5 separate regions of the Homo sapiens genome follow, and regions 1, 2, 4 and 5 are each linked to region 3. The links are contacts of gene promoters, found by promoter capture Hi-C in blood cells and fetal thymus (Javierre and others, 2016). All regions are on one chromosome and are shown on one strand. Each heading gives the region's core, a stretch centred on a gene start or on the middle of the fragment in contact. The rest is flanking DNA. Distances are from core to core; before and after follow the strand shown.

What was found. Contacts are between HindIII fragments. The CHiCAGO score rates a contact against its expected background, and 5 or more counts as called.
Region 1: a contact is called between a fragment that was not itself captured here and the fragment with the promoter of C1orf220 in region 3, in 2 of 17 cell types (total B cells and naive B cells). The highest score is 14.5, in total B cells.
Region 2: a contact is called between a fragment that was not itself captured here and the fragment with the promoter of C1orf220 in region 3, in 3 of 17 cell types (total B cells, naive B cells and monocytes). The highest score is 30.8, in total B cells.
Region 4: a contact is called between a fragment that was not itself captured here and the fragment with the promoter of C1orf220 in region 3, in 2 of 17 cell types (total B cells and naive B cells). The highest score is 26.1, in total B cells.
Region 5: a contact is called between a fragment that was not itself captured here and the fragment with the promoter of C1orf220 in region 3, in 2 of 17 cell types (naive B cells and total B cells). The highest score is 13.9, in naive B cells.

The regions. Positions count from the first base shown.
Region 1 is chr1:178,857,711-178,860,410 of GRCh38, forward strand. The region is part of intron 8 of RALGPS2 (Ral GEF with PH domain and SH3 binding motif 2); the gene reads left to right. The region is part of intron 3 of ANGPTL1 (angiopoietin like 1); the gene reads right to left. Among named protein-coding and RNA genes, the nearest start is that of ANGPTL1, 12 kb to the right of the region's middle. The HindIII fragment of the contact is 1,184 bases long and covers 684-1,867 here.
Region 2 is chr1:178,801,441-178,804,140 of GRCh38, forward strand. All of the region lies in intron 4 of RALGPS2 (Ral GEF with PH domain and SH3 binding motif 2), which reads left to right. LOC124904462 (a long non-coding RNA gene) reads right to left here. Exons shown (of 3, transcript XR_007066749.1): 2 at 1,632-1,741. Among named protein-coding and RNA genes, the nearest start is that of ANGPTL1, 68 kb to the right of the region's middle. The HindIII fragment of the contact is 1,813 bases long and covers 467-2,279 here.
Region 3 is chr1:178,541,459-178,544,158 of GRCh38, forward strand. It overlaps C1orf220 (chromosome 1 putative open reading frame 220), which reads left to right and starts at 1,338. Exons shown (of 3, transcript NR_033186.1): 1 at 1,338-1,427. LOC124904460 (a long non-coding RNA gene) reads right to left here and starts at 1,187. Exons shown (of 2, transcript XR_007066748.1): 1 at 576-1,187; 2 at 1-368. RefSeq lists an enhancer at 1,033-1,092 and silencers at 1,143-1,472, 1,503-1,572. The HindIII fragment of the contact is 17,585 bases long and covers 1-2,700 here.
Region 4 is chr1:178,822,562-178,825,261 of GRCh38, forward strand. All of the region lies in intron 7 of RALGPS2 (Ral GEF with PH domain and SH3 binding motif 2), which reads left to right. Among named protein-coding and RNA genes, the nearest start is that of ANGPTL1, 47 kb to the right of the region's middle. The HindIII fragment of the contact is 2,559 bases long and covers 69-2,627 here.
Region 5 is chr1:178,841,503-178,844,202 of GRCh38, forward strand. The region is part of intron 8 of RALGPS2 (Ral GEF with PH domain and SH3 binding motif 2); the gene reads left to right. Among named protein-coding and RNA genes, the nearest start is that of ANGPTL1, 28 kb to the right of the region's middle. The HindIII fragment of the contact is 3,073 bases long and covers 1-2,700 here.

The sequences.
Region 1 (2,700 bases), core at 26-2,525, 320 kb after region 3:
TGTTTACTCTGCATTCATTTGAGTATAGTTTTGACAGTTTACATTTAAGTATATATTCAAAGGTTGGACTTTTATTAGGTTATTTGCTTTGCTGCAGAATATTTAGAAACATCAGTGTTCTGAATGTTGACAGAATATTTGTCAAGTATCATTTGTTCCATAGAGCTATACTCATTTTTTGCTATTTAATAGACACTCAGATGTTTAAAGCAAAATAGAGAGTTCTGGTTTTCTGAATCCAGCTTTGATTTCATAAGACTTCAATTATGCAAATTTAAGATTATCTTCAGCTTTAATTTTCAACCCATGTTTTGCAGTGGGCTTTGTGTTTACAGTTGGATATCTGTTAGACTTAGGGAAATGTAGTTGAAGTTCTTTTCCAGAACATATGGATAAAATTTAGCAGTGCCTAAAGCTATTTTTTTCTCCTCAGTAAAGATATTAGATATCAGAATTCAATATTTATTTGTATTTATTTTTATAAACATACCATTAACCTGTCTTAGTCCAGTGTATATTGTTGATCCTAGCAGAAATATTTTCTCATTATTACTTGAAAATCTTATTTACTTTCTGCCCTAAAATTAGATTCTCTATTGTCCCTATCTTAAATGTTTTCACTGCTTTTTCTGTACCATAAAGAACATTGCTTGAAAGAAATTAATGACAAATAGAAAATTTTAAGCTTTATTCTTGAGAAGCCAGATTTAATTCACAGGTTTGCATATTTTCAGAAATAAATTGATTGATCTGTGAATCAGGAATTTGTTCATGATGATTCAAAAGGTATAAACTGGAATTACCTTTCTTTTAAACTAAGCATAGTATCAACTATTTTTTGCAAGAGTCTTCTCAAAGCAGGCAACTGGAATTCTGTACATTGAATTTGAAGAACCAGTCTCTCTGTTCCTCAATTTATGTGAGGATTAAAGTTTACATAGGGCTAATGAAACCATATTAATACCTCTGATTTATAGAAAGAAAAATGTTGACCAGTCATGCCACATTATTTCCCAAGGTGTATTTATTAAGAACCCATATTTTGAATAGAACAGTGAGTTAAAAAAGAAAAAAGGATTTCACACTTTGAATAGCAGCTTTACTGGGAGCCATCTGTAACATATGTGTTCTTTTTCTGTAAAAAGAGCTTTTACAAAGAGAATTACAGATTACAAAGAGAATCCTTTTTATGACAGGAGAAACAGTAAACCAATTCAGAGCTTTCAAATTATTGGTTACCAAGTAGGATCTTTTGAGAGGTAAACTTTTCAGTTGGGTTGTGCATTAACTTTCAGTTAAATATATTCAACATTTCTGGAGTGGGAAGTTTGAGACAAATACTTTCTGAAGTGACAGTAGGGTCTTTCTGTAATAATATGAATTACTTAGTTTATTAATCTGTATGTTTAAACTGTATTTAGCAACCCAAACTTTTAATTATTAAAGAATTTATCAATTACGTTCTCATAACTGGCTAATACAGTCATTTTCCAACAGCACCTTGGCTTAACTAGTTTTTTTGTTTTGTATTAAATGTTAGTATAAGTATTCCATTGAAACCAATTATACCTAAAAAGTATATTAAGAAGCATTATAAATAATTTGAAAAATGTAAATATTTGGTGATTTAAAATAAGCCTACCACTAAAAAGCATATTTTTAGTTTCTAATGACTACTTTCCAAGTTTAACTTTTTTTTTTTTTTTTTTTTTGAGACGGAGTCTCGCTCTGTCGCCAGGCTGGAGTGCAGTGTCACGATCTCGGCTCACTGCAACCTCCGCCTCCCGAGTTCAAGCAATTTTCCTGCCTCAGCCTCCCAAGTAGCTGGGATTACAGGCGCCCGCCACTACGAAGTTTTAACTTTTTAAGCTTACCATTTATGTCCTCATATACCTAATATGACAAGGAAAGACACATAAAGGGAAGTGTACAAAATATGCAATGATTAATGGTGGTCAAACCATGCCACATCATACACGAAGCACTTTTTTTTTTTTTTTTTTTTTGAGACGGAGTCTCGCTCTGTCGCCAGGCTGGAGTGCAGTGTCGCGATCTCGGCTCACTGCAAGCTCTGCCTCCCGGGTTCATGCCATTCTCCTGCCTCTGCCCGCCCCCCCCCCCCCAACCGCCCAAGTAGCTGGGACTACAGGCGCCCGCCACCACGCCTGGCTAATTTTTTTGTATTTTTGGTAGAGACGGGGTTTCGCCATGTTAGCCAGGATGGTCTCGATCTCCTGACCTCGTGATCCACCCGTCTCGGCTACACAAAGCACTTCTACCTGTACCCCCTCATTTAATCATCACAACAATTTATTTTACAAAAGAGGCAACTGGACCCCAGAAAGCTTTGCCAGAATCCAAGTTTACTGATACTCAGATCTATGCTTTTACACATGGTGAAGGAACTTTCTCCACTCAGCTCTCCTACAAGGAATAAACTTGTTTTTATAAATACGCTATTTGTAAAAGAGTAATTTTTTTTAATAAAAGACTAACCCAAAATGCAGGCACCAAATAACATTAATAGTTAAGAATTTCATTGATTGCAGCTTGTCAGGTGTATTATTACATTCTCAAACATTTTGTTTTTAAGGTAGAGAAGAAGGTAATGTGTTTGAAAAATGTTTTTTATCTAAATACTATTTTTTATAACTTCATGGGTTTTTTGAGGTAGATTTTTCTTATAACCATTTTTAAAGA
Region 2 (2,700 bases), core at 123-2,622, 260 kb after region 3:
CCCATTTGATCCTGTTTCATCATTATAATTTATCGTGATAAATAAGGAAGCCAGACAAAAGTATGGTGGATTGTGGCTTCATTTTTACATTAAAAAAATTTTTTAATACTTTTCTGACTCCTCAAATAAATGCCAAGAGGTTTTGGAAAGTCCGTCCAATTCTTAGAACATTTCTGCATCATTAATTTAATGGAAAAAATGCTTTGTCACTTGAGGAAAACTGTTGGAAGGTGACTGAAAGGAAATCATGAAAGAGATTGTGGATATGGCAAAAAAGGTAGGGAGCTAAGAGTTTCGAGATATGGATCTTGGAGAAATTCAAGAGCTAATAAACACCACACCAGAGGAATTAACAAAAGGTGACTTGATGGGTAGAAGGGAGGGAGGGAGGGAGGGAGAGGTGTGTAGTCACATTCTTTGGAAGCAGCTGGGTTAAAATTCCGTTTGAAGCCCTCCATTCTAAAGAAGCTTATAATTAGAAAACAAGAGAAAATGTTTTTGAACCTCATAAGATGGTAGTTTCTGTATCAGAAAACATTTCCCCCATGAAACAGTGTTACATCACTAGCCTATCTCATACAACAATAATCAGAACTACACTTTACCCTTGAATGTCTCTGGAGTTAGAAACACCAGGCTCCCAGAAGTCGAAAATTTGCAGGTAAAACTCAACTACTCATAGCCTACCATTGACTGGAAGCCTTATTGATAACATAAACAGTCGATTAACACATAGTTTGTATGTTATATATATTATATAATATATTCTTAAAGTAAGCTAGAAAAAAGAAAATGTTATTAGGAAAAATACATTTACAGTACTGTATTGTACATCATAAGTTTACATAGTCTGTTTATAAGATATATTGACTGAAATGGCAGCAGGACCTCAGTCTATGGTACATATCAAGCAATGCAACTTGTTCTTGAAATGTCATGACTTTTCTTTGCTTCTTAGGAGCACTTCCAGCATCTCTAGTGGTGCTTCTTATGGGTCCCATGGTGTTATTCAAGGTTTAGGATATTGCACTAAACACGATGAAAAATAACGTGAGAACCGTGAGAAATCACATTTTACTGTGATAATACAATTTACTGGAGATAGGAACTGCTCATGTGGAGATAAGTAGTGTCATCACAGGGTGTTTTAAGGGAATACTCTCTACACTTAAACTCACTGTAAGAGCAACACGAGGTGGGTACAAAATTATTATAGTAGAACAGTATGTACTATGGTTAATTTTATGCAGTTATGATTTAATATTGCACCTTTATGTTTGTTACATTTCTCTGGACTGCATATGGCAGCATGTAAGGTCTGTTGGTGTGCATAAATTTTGATAAATGTTAACTTTTTTAAATACATTTGTGTGTATTTTATGGTAGTAAATGATAAAATAGACTAGTATTTTATACATTCACGCCATCCCTAGCTTTTTCTTAATTTTTCGATACTCCAAGCCATGTGGTTTGTCTGCAAGTTTTTTCAAATTGTTGCAAATCTTCAAGACAAAATTTCCAAAATATTTTTTGAAAAAAATCTGTGTATGAGTGGACCCACACAGTTCAAACCCATGTTGTTCAAGGGTCAACTATGTACCTCATTTTGATAAGAGTGTTGTGAAACTTACATTCATTTCTCGTGGGAGTGTAAATGATTCAGTATTTCAGGAGGGCAGTTTGACAGGTAGCAGAGCCTTGAAAAGGTTCATACTCTTTGACCTCGTGATTTCTTGTAGGACTATATTTTTAAGAAATAATCAGAAATGTCAGAAGAGGTGCAAGGATATTCATTATTTGTAATTATAGCATTACTTAACAATAGGAAAATGAAATCAGCCTTTTGTGTAAAGGTCTATAATGGAGTTTGACTTCTTTGTCAAATGGCTACTTTGAGTGGTTTGATAAGTTTAATTTGATAGACACTTTGATTATAGCATTAATATAAGTTTTGTAATTATAGTAATTGGCTAAAAACGAATTCAGTTACTTAGGGATTTAATCTTAGGAATTTTATCCTAAAATATGACATCTTTATGTAGTTGTGTATGTATGCTGTGATTTTGGAAAGAACAAAAATGTTTCTAGCAGTTTGATGTTTTCAGTATCATTGTCATAATATTTTTGTGTGAATATAATTTTTACTACTAAATGTTTTCTTTTTTTACAGGGAGATAATATAAAATGATCATATAGCTAGGCTAATTGAATATCCAGAAATTTTTATTTTTGCTATAGAATTGCTTTTTATCATTTCATTATTTCTTTCAGAAATTTCAAGCTTGAAAGATATGATCTAATTTTAGATTTAAAAAGGCAGTTTTTATCTCCACAGCATTCACTCCTTATCTACTGTGTAGAAATAATTGTCATCTCTCCCCTCAGTATTCCCTATCTCAGTTGCTCAAAGCAGAAACCTGGAATCTTAGTACTTCTGCAGACTTCGTTTTTAGCTTACATCACATGAGTCCAATTCTTGATGAAGTCCTGTCTGCCTCCAGAGTATCTTGAGTCTATCGTATCCATATCCACTGACAGTGCCCTGGTTGAGGGAACATTACTTTTTTCTTGAAGGACTATAGTATCATCTTAACTGTTTCCTCAATCTTCCCCTGACTCAATCTATTCCTTTTTTTTTTTTTGGTTTCTAATTTAATTTAAGATTTTATTGAAGTTTTGCATGTATCATGTTTAAGAAGT
Region 3 (2,700 bases), core at 88-2,587:
CCAGGTGGCAGCCAGAGTGATCTTACAAAACCGTAGGTCAGGTCATTGCCCCCTGTCAGACTCAAGCCCATCACAGCCCTTGCTATGCTGACAGGCCCATCCCACCCCAGCCCGCTCCCCCCACCACCTGCCCCCCTCCGCCACCTCACCTGTGCCTTCTGCACGCCTCTCCCACCACTCCCCCTCCCTCCCTTTACTCTGGCCACTCTGAATGTCACTGGTCCTCCTTGAGCCCTCCTGAGCCCTCTGCCCAGAGTAATGCCAGAGTGGAGGCCACAGCTGAAGGCAGAGGCTGTTGGCCTGGGGTGGAGAGGGGAGATTCCTCTGGGTGGAAGGTGACATTGGGCAGCCTTGGATGAAGTGAATACCTGGTGTGGGGAAGCAAAAATAAATAGAGAAACAAACGGATTAATTTTGCTTCTTTCCAGGGACTTGATTTTCTACAAGTGCTGCTCCAAGAGGCTTCTACACCCCCGCAGGGAGGCAAGCACCGTTTTGAGGTGGCCGGGCTGGCGAGGAGGTGCAGACCCCAGCCAGCTGGAGGGGCTCTGCCCTGATGGCGTTCCCACTCCCACCTCATTCGCAGGGCGCCGGGGAGGGCTGCAGGTGTTCTATTCCCACCCGGCTTGCAGCGCAAGGAGGGGAATCGCCTGACACCTTCCCCTTCTCCTCTGCCCCGCTTCCTTTCTCTGCTCCCACAGGTGGAAGTCACCAGCGGAAACAACCCTTCACTGTATGGAGGGCTGGGAGAGAGGGGCCAAGAGGGCCCCGGGAGAGCCACTGGGCGGCAGGCAAGGGGCGGGGCAGTCTCCCTTCCGGCTTCCGGGACCGAAGGGTGAAGGGCAAGGGGAGCTCAGGGAATGAACGAGTGCTCCCGACTAATGTTTAACCCACGACTCCGAGACTCCGACTGGTCACAGTCCTGCAGACCTCCAGGTCCTGCACAGGCGACGCAGCGCTCCACTGGCCCGGAATGCGCACCCCGGGGGAAATGGAAAGTGCCATTGAAATGTCAGATGTCACCGTCTTCATCAGCACTCTTGGAATTTTGGCCAAAGTGGCTTCTTCTTTTGCTGAGACTTGACTCACTCCCGGCAGAGGGATGATAGCGGCCTTGCCCCGAGCGTTTATCCGGCTGCAGGCGTCATTCTTGGTCGCCTGTGTGTCCAGAGCCCCAGCGCAGGAAGGGAGCGCAATTCCCACCGCGCCCGCTGGGTGGCGCTAGCGCCGCACCGTGTCCCGGGATGAGGGGAAACCGCGCTGCCCAGTCAGTACCCCGACGCCCCCGCGCCCCCGCCGGGCCCCGCGCGCTGCAGCCACCGCCTCTTCTCGGCTTCCTCTTGCTTTACAGTAACTCTCCTCCTGGGGAAAAGGCTTTTCACGGAGCAGGCTCGGAGCCTACGGGGCTGGCCTCGGACTGGATGGGGGTAAGGACGGGTGGCGGCGCTCGCGCCGAGCGAACGGAGGGCTCAGGCGGCCGGTGATCAGGGACGGGCTGCGGCCGCCGTCTGGGGTGAGAGGCCCACCCAGAGCTCTGGGCCAGGGCTCGCGGCTCTCGTGCAGATGCTGGGCCGGGAGGTGTGGGGAGGGGGCTTCCCAGGCGGGGCAACCGGAGGGGAATGGGGTGTGCAGGAGGGAGGGGAGGCGTGGAGCGCCCGGCCTGCAGGCACTGGGCGGCGCTCTCCAGCCTCCTCTTCTCCCGCCGGGTGCCTGGTGGCTTGGCCTCCCCTCCAGAGCTTCGCATATCCTGGCGGGAGCCGGCGCTCTCTCTCCATACTTAGGACTTGACCCTTATTCCACACCCGGGCAGGGAATCATTTGCCCAATCCGAATTTGATTTTCTGCTTGTGAGAGGAGAAACTGGTGACAGTGTCGCATGGACACTGTCGGGGAAGCCGAGACGTAGACCTGGAAGCCTGTACCAGAGGCCTTGTGGACAGCTTTGGAGCATGCATCTTAAGGCACACCACCGGTTTCTGCTGCTTTGGCACAGCCACGCAGCACCTAGGATGCTTCTCTGCACGCAGCAGAGGCCTAATCCGTGCACCCTCTGACGGTGTTGGAGGGAGCTGGGGAGCAACATCAGATTAATAGCCCCTGGGCTATTTGTATGACGTGCAGATTTCACCCTCTCATTCTTAAAGGGTGAAAGGCTGCAATTCAGAAAGGCGAAGATGGGGCCCAGGAATCTGCAATCTGCGTGGGGTTTTTTTTTTTTTTATGAAGTCTTGTTCTGTCGCTCAGGTTGGGGTGCAGTGGCGCGATCTGTGCTCACCGCAACCTGTCTTCCAGGTTCAAGCGATTATCCTGCCTCAGCCTTCTGAGTAGCTGGGACTACAGGTGCATGACACCACACCTGGCTAATTTTTGTATTTTTAGTAGAGATGGGGTTTCACCATGTTCGCCAGGCTGGTCTTGAACTCCTGACCTCAAGTGATACGCCCACCTTGGCCTCCCAACGTGCTGGGATTACAGGCATGAGCCACCGCGCCTGGCCAGAGTTTGCATTTTGTTGTTGTCGTTTGTTTGTTTGAGACGGAGTCTCGCTCTGTGGCCCAGGCTGGAGTGCAGTGGCGCCATCTCGACTCACTGCAACCTCTGCTTCCCAGGTTCAAGCGATTCTCCTGCCTCAATCTCCCAAGTAGCGGGGATTAACAGGCGTGCCACCACCATGCCTGGCTAAATTTTTTATTCTTAGTA
Region 4 (2,700 bases), core at 98-2,597, 280 kb after region 3:
TGAAGAGACAGATGTTTCCCATGAAAACCAGTGTAGATTTCTATATTGGAAAAACATTAGTATGGAAAAGCTTGTGATCCTTTTTATGTTTCTCTTTTCTATTTTATAGAAAAACCTTGGTGTGAAGGGTTTTCTTTAAAAATTCTTTTTAATAATTATGGCCTTATTGTCTTTTCTTAAAATTTGAATTTCATGGAGGAATGGAAATGATTATAAATATACAGTTATGAATTATATCTTTAAAGTTTTAGGGAAAAGAATTATACGCTGTGAAAAAAAAATTCTATTTTTATTTTTTGCATCCAGGCTGGAGTGTAGCACGATCATAGCTTACTGCAGCCCCCAACTCCTGGGCTCAGAGGATCCTCCAGCCTCAGCCTCCCAAGTAACTGGACTACAGGCACATGCCACCATGCCCAACTAATTTTTTAAAAAGTTTTTATAGTGATGGGGTCTCACTGTGTTGTCCAGGCTGTTTTCGAACGCCTGATCTCAAGTGATCCTCCCGCCTTAGCCTCTCAAAGTGCTGGGATTACAGGCATGAGCCATTACGCCCAGTCCTATACTTTTATTTATGATTTGGTTTAGTAATGAGGTAGATTTTGCTGAAGTTAATTTTTATTTTCCTTGAAGATATTTTCATTGCCTCCCTTATGTATTTTTGTGGAAAATAATAATTTTTATTTGGTAACAGCTTCATTATTTATCTGAATAAAACTTTTGATGGTTTGTATTTTAAAATATTTCATACTGTGCTATGCACTCTGTAATTGCTTGACATTTAATAGTGAATGATCTAGACAAAGTTCCATTTTCATACAGCTAACATTCTGCTGGGGAAGAATAAATTACAAATAAATAAATGACATAAATAGCAATAAATGCTCTGAAGAAAAGTAGAAAGGAAGGCAGGACAGTACTGTGTTATGTAACATGGTAAGAGAATTGTTGATAAATGACAGTTCAGTAGAGACCTGGAGGAATTGAGGGAACCATTTATTTGGATATCTGGGAGAAGAGAATTCCAAGTAGAGGTAATAACAAGTAAAAAGGCCCAGATACATTCAAATGGCAGAGTGGTTAGTGTTGACAGTAGAATAAGCTAGGAAGGTACCCGGTGGTAGGAGATGATTTCAAAGAGGTGGCATGAATCAGATAATGGAGGTGCTGTTTACTTATATTCAGAGAGGTATAGAGAAGGACCATTGTGGGCTGGGGTTCTATTTTACACATACTGTGTTTGAGTTGGCTAGTAAACATCCATGTGAAATGTAAGGTCAGACTTAGATGTACAAGTTTAAGGGAGTGGTTGGGGCTAGAGAGAGATTGTTATAATCATCAATGTAAACTATTTGAAGCTAGATGGGATTACCTAAGGAGGGAGCATAGATGAAAAGCCCTGGGAACCTCCAGGATTCCCAAGTAGAGATTGGAAAAATGAGGAGAAATCAACAAAGGAAATTACGGGTAGGACACATTTTTCACAGTCAGGTAAAGAAAATGTTTCAATAAAAATTGATCACCTTTGTCAAATGCTACTAATAATTTGAATAAGGTGCAAAGTTTGAGATGACCTGACAATTGGAAAGGATTGGTGACCTCGGGAAGAGTGATTTCAGTAGAGAATGGGGTGAAAAACTGACTGGAGTTGAGAGAATGGTGATGAAGAAGTGGGACAGCAAGTATAGAGAATGCTTTTGAGGAATTTTACTGTAAAGGGCTGCAGTGTGGTTTGCAGAGAAATATGGTACCTGGAAGGGAATGTGGGACCAAAGATTTGTTGTATTTTGTTTTGTTTTTGGAAATGGCATCAATGGCAATATGTTTTATGTTGGTGGCAATAATCTAGTAGAACTAAAAAAATGACAAGAGAATGAGGAATTATACCAGTGATATGCTTGATGAGATGAAAGAGAATTAGATTTAGTACCCTAGTGTATCAGTAAGAGTTTATCCATTTTACGCCGGGTGCAGTGGTGGCTCATGCCTGTAACTCCAGCACTTTGGGAGGCCAAGTCGGGCGGATCACAAGGTCAGGAGATCCAGACCATCCTGGCTAAAACGGTGAAACCCCGTCTCTACTAAAAATACAAAAAAATTAGTCAGACGTGGTGATGGGCGCCTGTAGTCCCAGCTACTCTGGAGGCTGAGGCAGGAGAATGGCGTGAACCCAGGAGGCGGAGCTTGCAGTGAGCCGAGATCGCGCTACTGCACTCCAGCCTGTGCGACAGAGCAAGACTCTGTCTCAAAAAAAAAGAAAAAAAAAGAAAAGATAGTTTATCCATTTTAACAGCAGGGAAGGGAACACATTTAGTTACAGATGCAGGTAAGTTGGTAGATTTCGTGGTGGGATTCTTAGAAGTTCTGATTGTTTTGTTTCCTCAGACATAAAAAAGCAAGGTCTTTAGTTAAGGTGGTATGGGAGAGGTGTTGGAGATTTGAAGAAAGAAGAGAGGATATAAAAGTCATCTGGAGAGTGTGAGAGTGTGTTAACTAAGAAAACGTAATAGGTTTGATAGACCTTATGTAGGATCCATCTACTTAAGACTTTTTTTTAATCATGAATTTAAAGTAAAACCAGTCAGCAGAGTTATGTATTCTCCAGCCAGGTTCAGATATTCAGCATAAGCTTTCAATAGTGCCAAGAGTTGTATTTAACCAGAGATGGGATTTTTCGAGGCTTTTGTACCAGAAGGGTTA
Region 5 (2,700 bases), core at 74-2,573, 300 kb after region 3:
AAATAATAAGAGCTATCTATGACAAACCCACAGCCAATATCATACTGAATGGGCAAAAACTGGAAGCATTCCCTTTGAAAACTGGCACAAGACAGGGATGCCCTCTCTCACCACTCCTATTCAACATAGTGTTGGAAGTTCTGGCCAGGGCAATTAGACAGGAGAAGGAAATAAAGGGTATTCAATTAGGAAAAGAGGAAGTCAAATTGTCCCTGTTTGCAGACGACATGATTGTATATCTAGAAAACCCCATTGTCTCAGCCCAAAATCTCCTTAAGCTGATAAGCAACTTCAGCAAAGTCTCAGGATACAAAATCAATGTACAAAAATCACAAGCATTCTTATACACCAACAACAGACAAACAGAGAGCCAAATCATGAGTGAACTCCCATTCACAATTGCTTCAAAGAGAATAAAATACCTAGGAATCCAACTTACAAGGGATGTGAAGCACCTCTTCAAGGAGAACTACAAACCACTGCTCAAGGAAATAAAAGAGGATACAAACAAATGGAAGAACATTCCATGCTCATGGGTAGGAAGAATCAATATCGTGAAAATGGCCATACTGCCCAAGGTAATTTACAGATTCAATGCCATCCCCATCAAGCTACCAATGACTTTCTTCACAGAATTGGAAAAAACTACTTTAAAGTTCATATGGAACCAAAAAAGAGCCCGCATTGCCAAGTCAATCCTAAGCCAAAAGAACAAAGCTGGAGGAATCACACTACCTGACTTCAAACTATACTACAAGGCTACAGTAACCAAAACAGCATGGTACTGGTACCAAAACAGAGATATAGATCAATGGAACAGAACAGAGCCCTCAGAAATAACGCCGCATACCTACAGCTATCTGATCTTTGACAAACCTGAGAAAAACAAGCAATGGGGAAAGGATTCCCTATTTAATAAATGGTGCTGGGAAAACTGGCTAGCCATATGTAGGAAGCTGAAACTGGATCCCTTCCTTACACCTTATACAAAAATCAATTCAAGATGGATTAAAGATTTAAACGTTAGACCTAAAACCATAAAAACCCTAGAAGAAAACCTAGGCATCACCATTCAGGACATAGGCATGGGCAAGGACTTCATGTCCAAAACACCAAAAGCAATGGCAACAAAAGACAAAATTGACAAATGGGATCTAATTAAACTAAAGAGCTTCTGCACAGCAAAAGAAACTACCATCAGAGTGAACAGGCAACCTACAAAATGGGAGAAAATTTTTGCAACCTACTCATCTGACAAAGGGCTAATATCCAGAATCTACAGTGAACTCAAACAAATTTACAAGAAAAAAACAAACAACCCCATCAAAAAGTGGGCGAAGGACATGAACAGACACTTCTCAAAAGAAGACATTTATGCAGCCAAAAAACACATGAAAAAATGCTCACCATCACTGGCCATCAGAGAAATGCAAATCAAAACCACTATGAGATACCATCTCACACCAGTTAGAATGGCAATCATTAAAAAGTCAGGAAACGACAGGTGCTGGAGAGGATGTGGAGAAATAGGAACAGTTTTACACTGTTGGTGGGACTGTAAACTAGTTCAACCATTGTGGAAGTCAGTGTGGCGATTCCTCAGGGATCTAGAACTAGAATTACCATTTGACCCAGCCATCCCATTACTGGGTATATACCCAAATGACTATAAATCATGCTGCTATAAAGACACATGCACACGTATGTTTATTGCGGCATTATTCACAATAGCAAAGACTTGGAACCAACCCAAATGTCCAACAATGATAGACTGGATTAAGAAAATGTGGCACATATACACCATGGAATACTATGCAGCCATAAAAAATGATGAGTTCATGTCCTTTGTAGGGACATGGATGAAATTGGAAATCATCATTCTCAGTAAACTATCGCAAGATCAAAAAACCAAACACCACATATTCTCACTCATAGGTGGGAACTGAACAATGAGATCACATGGACACAGGAAGGGGAATATCACACTCTGGGGACTGTGGTGGGGTGGGGGGAGGGGGGAGGGATAGCATTGGGAGATATACCTAATGCTAGATGACGAGTTAGTGGGTGCAGTGCACCAACATGGCGCATGTATACATATGTAACAAACCTGCACATTGTGTACATGTACCCTAAAACTTAAAGTATAATTAAAAAAAAAAAAAGAAAGAAAGAAACCAAAAAGGGAAAAAAAAACAGAAGGAAATTAAGAACATACACTATAGCATCTGCATAATTTTAGATACTGGTATTCTTCATATAGTTCATCCCTATCTGGGTATGTGAAGAAGCATCTTGATTGTGAGATTATTGTGGACTCCTGGGCATAAATATTTGGTAGACATGGGAAAGGAAAATGAAACATTTGTCAGATGAGTTTTTATGACTCAGTTTAGTTCGTTTCCAGTATGAAAATCATCCTTTTAATGTAATGACTGCTTTGCCTTATAGCAAACCGTTAGATTAAATGTATTTAATCTATTAAAACATACATGGTTTTGATTCAGAATCCTTTTCTATTCATGTGAAGGGAGGCTTAGTACAGTTGACAAAAACTTCAGCATTTATAAATGCTGTACATTTGATAGAAGTTGCCCTAAGAACAATTAAAAGGTAAAACTCATTATGCAAATTGGTAGCTTCATTTAACTATTCCTCTTCAAGTATACAGAGTTTGCATAATGCTATGCTTTATTCATT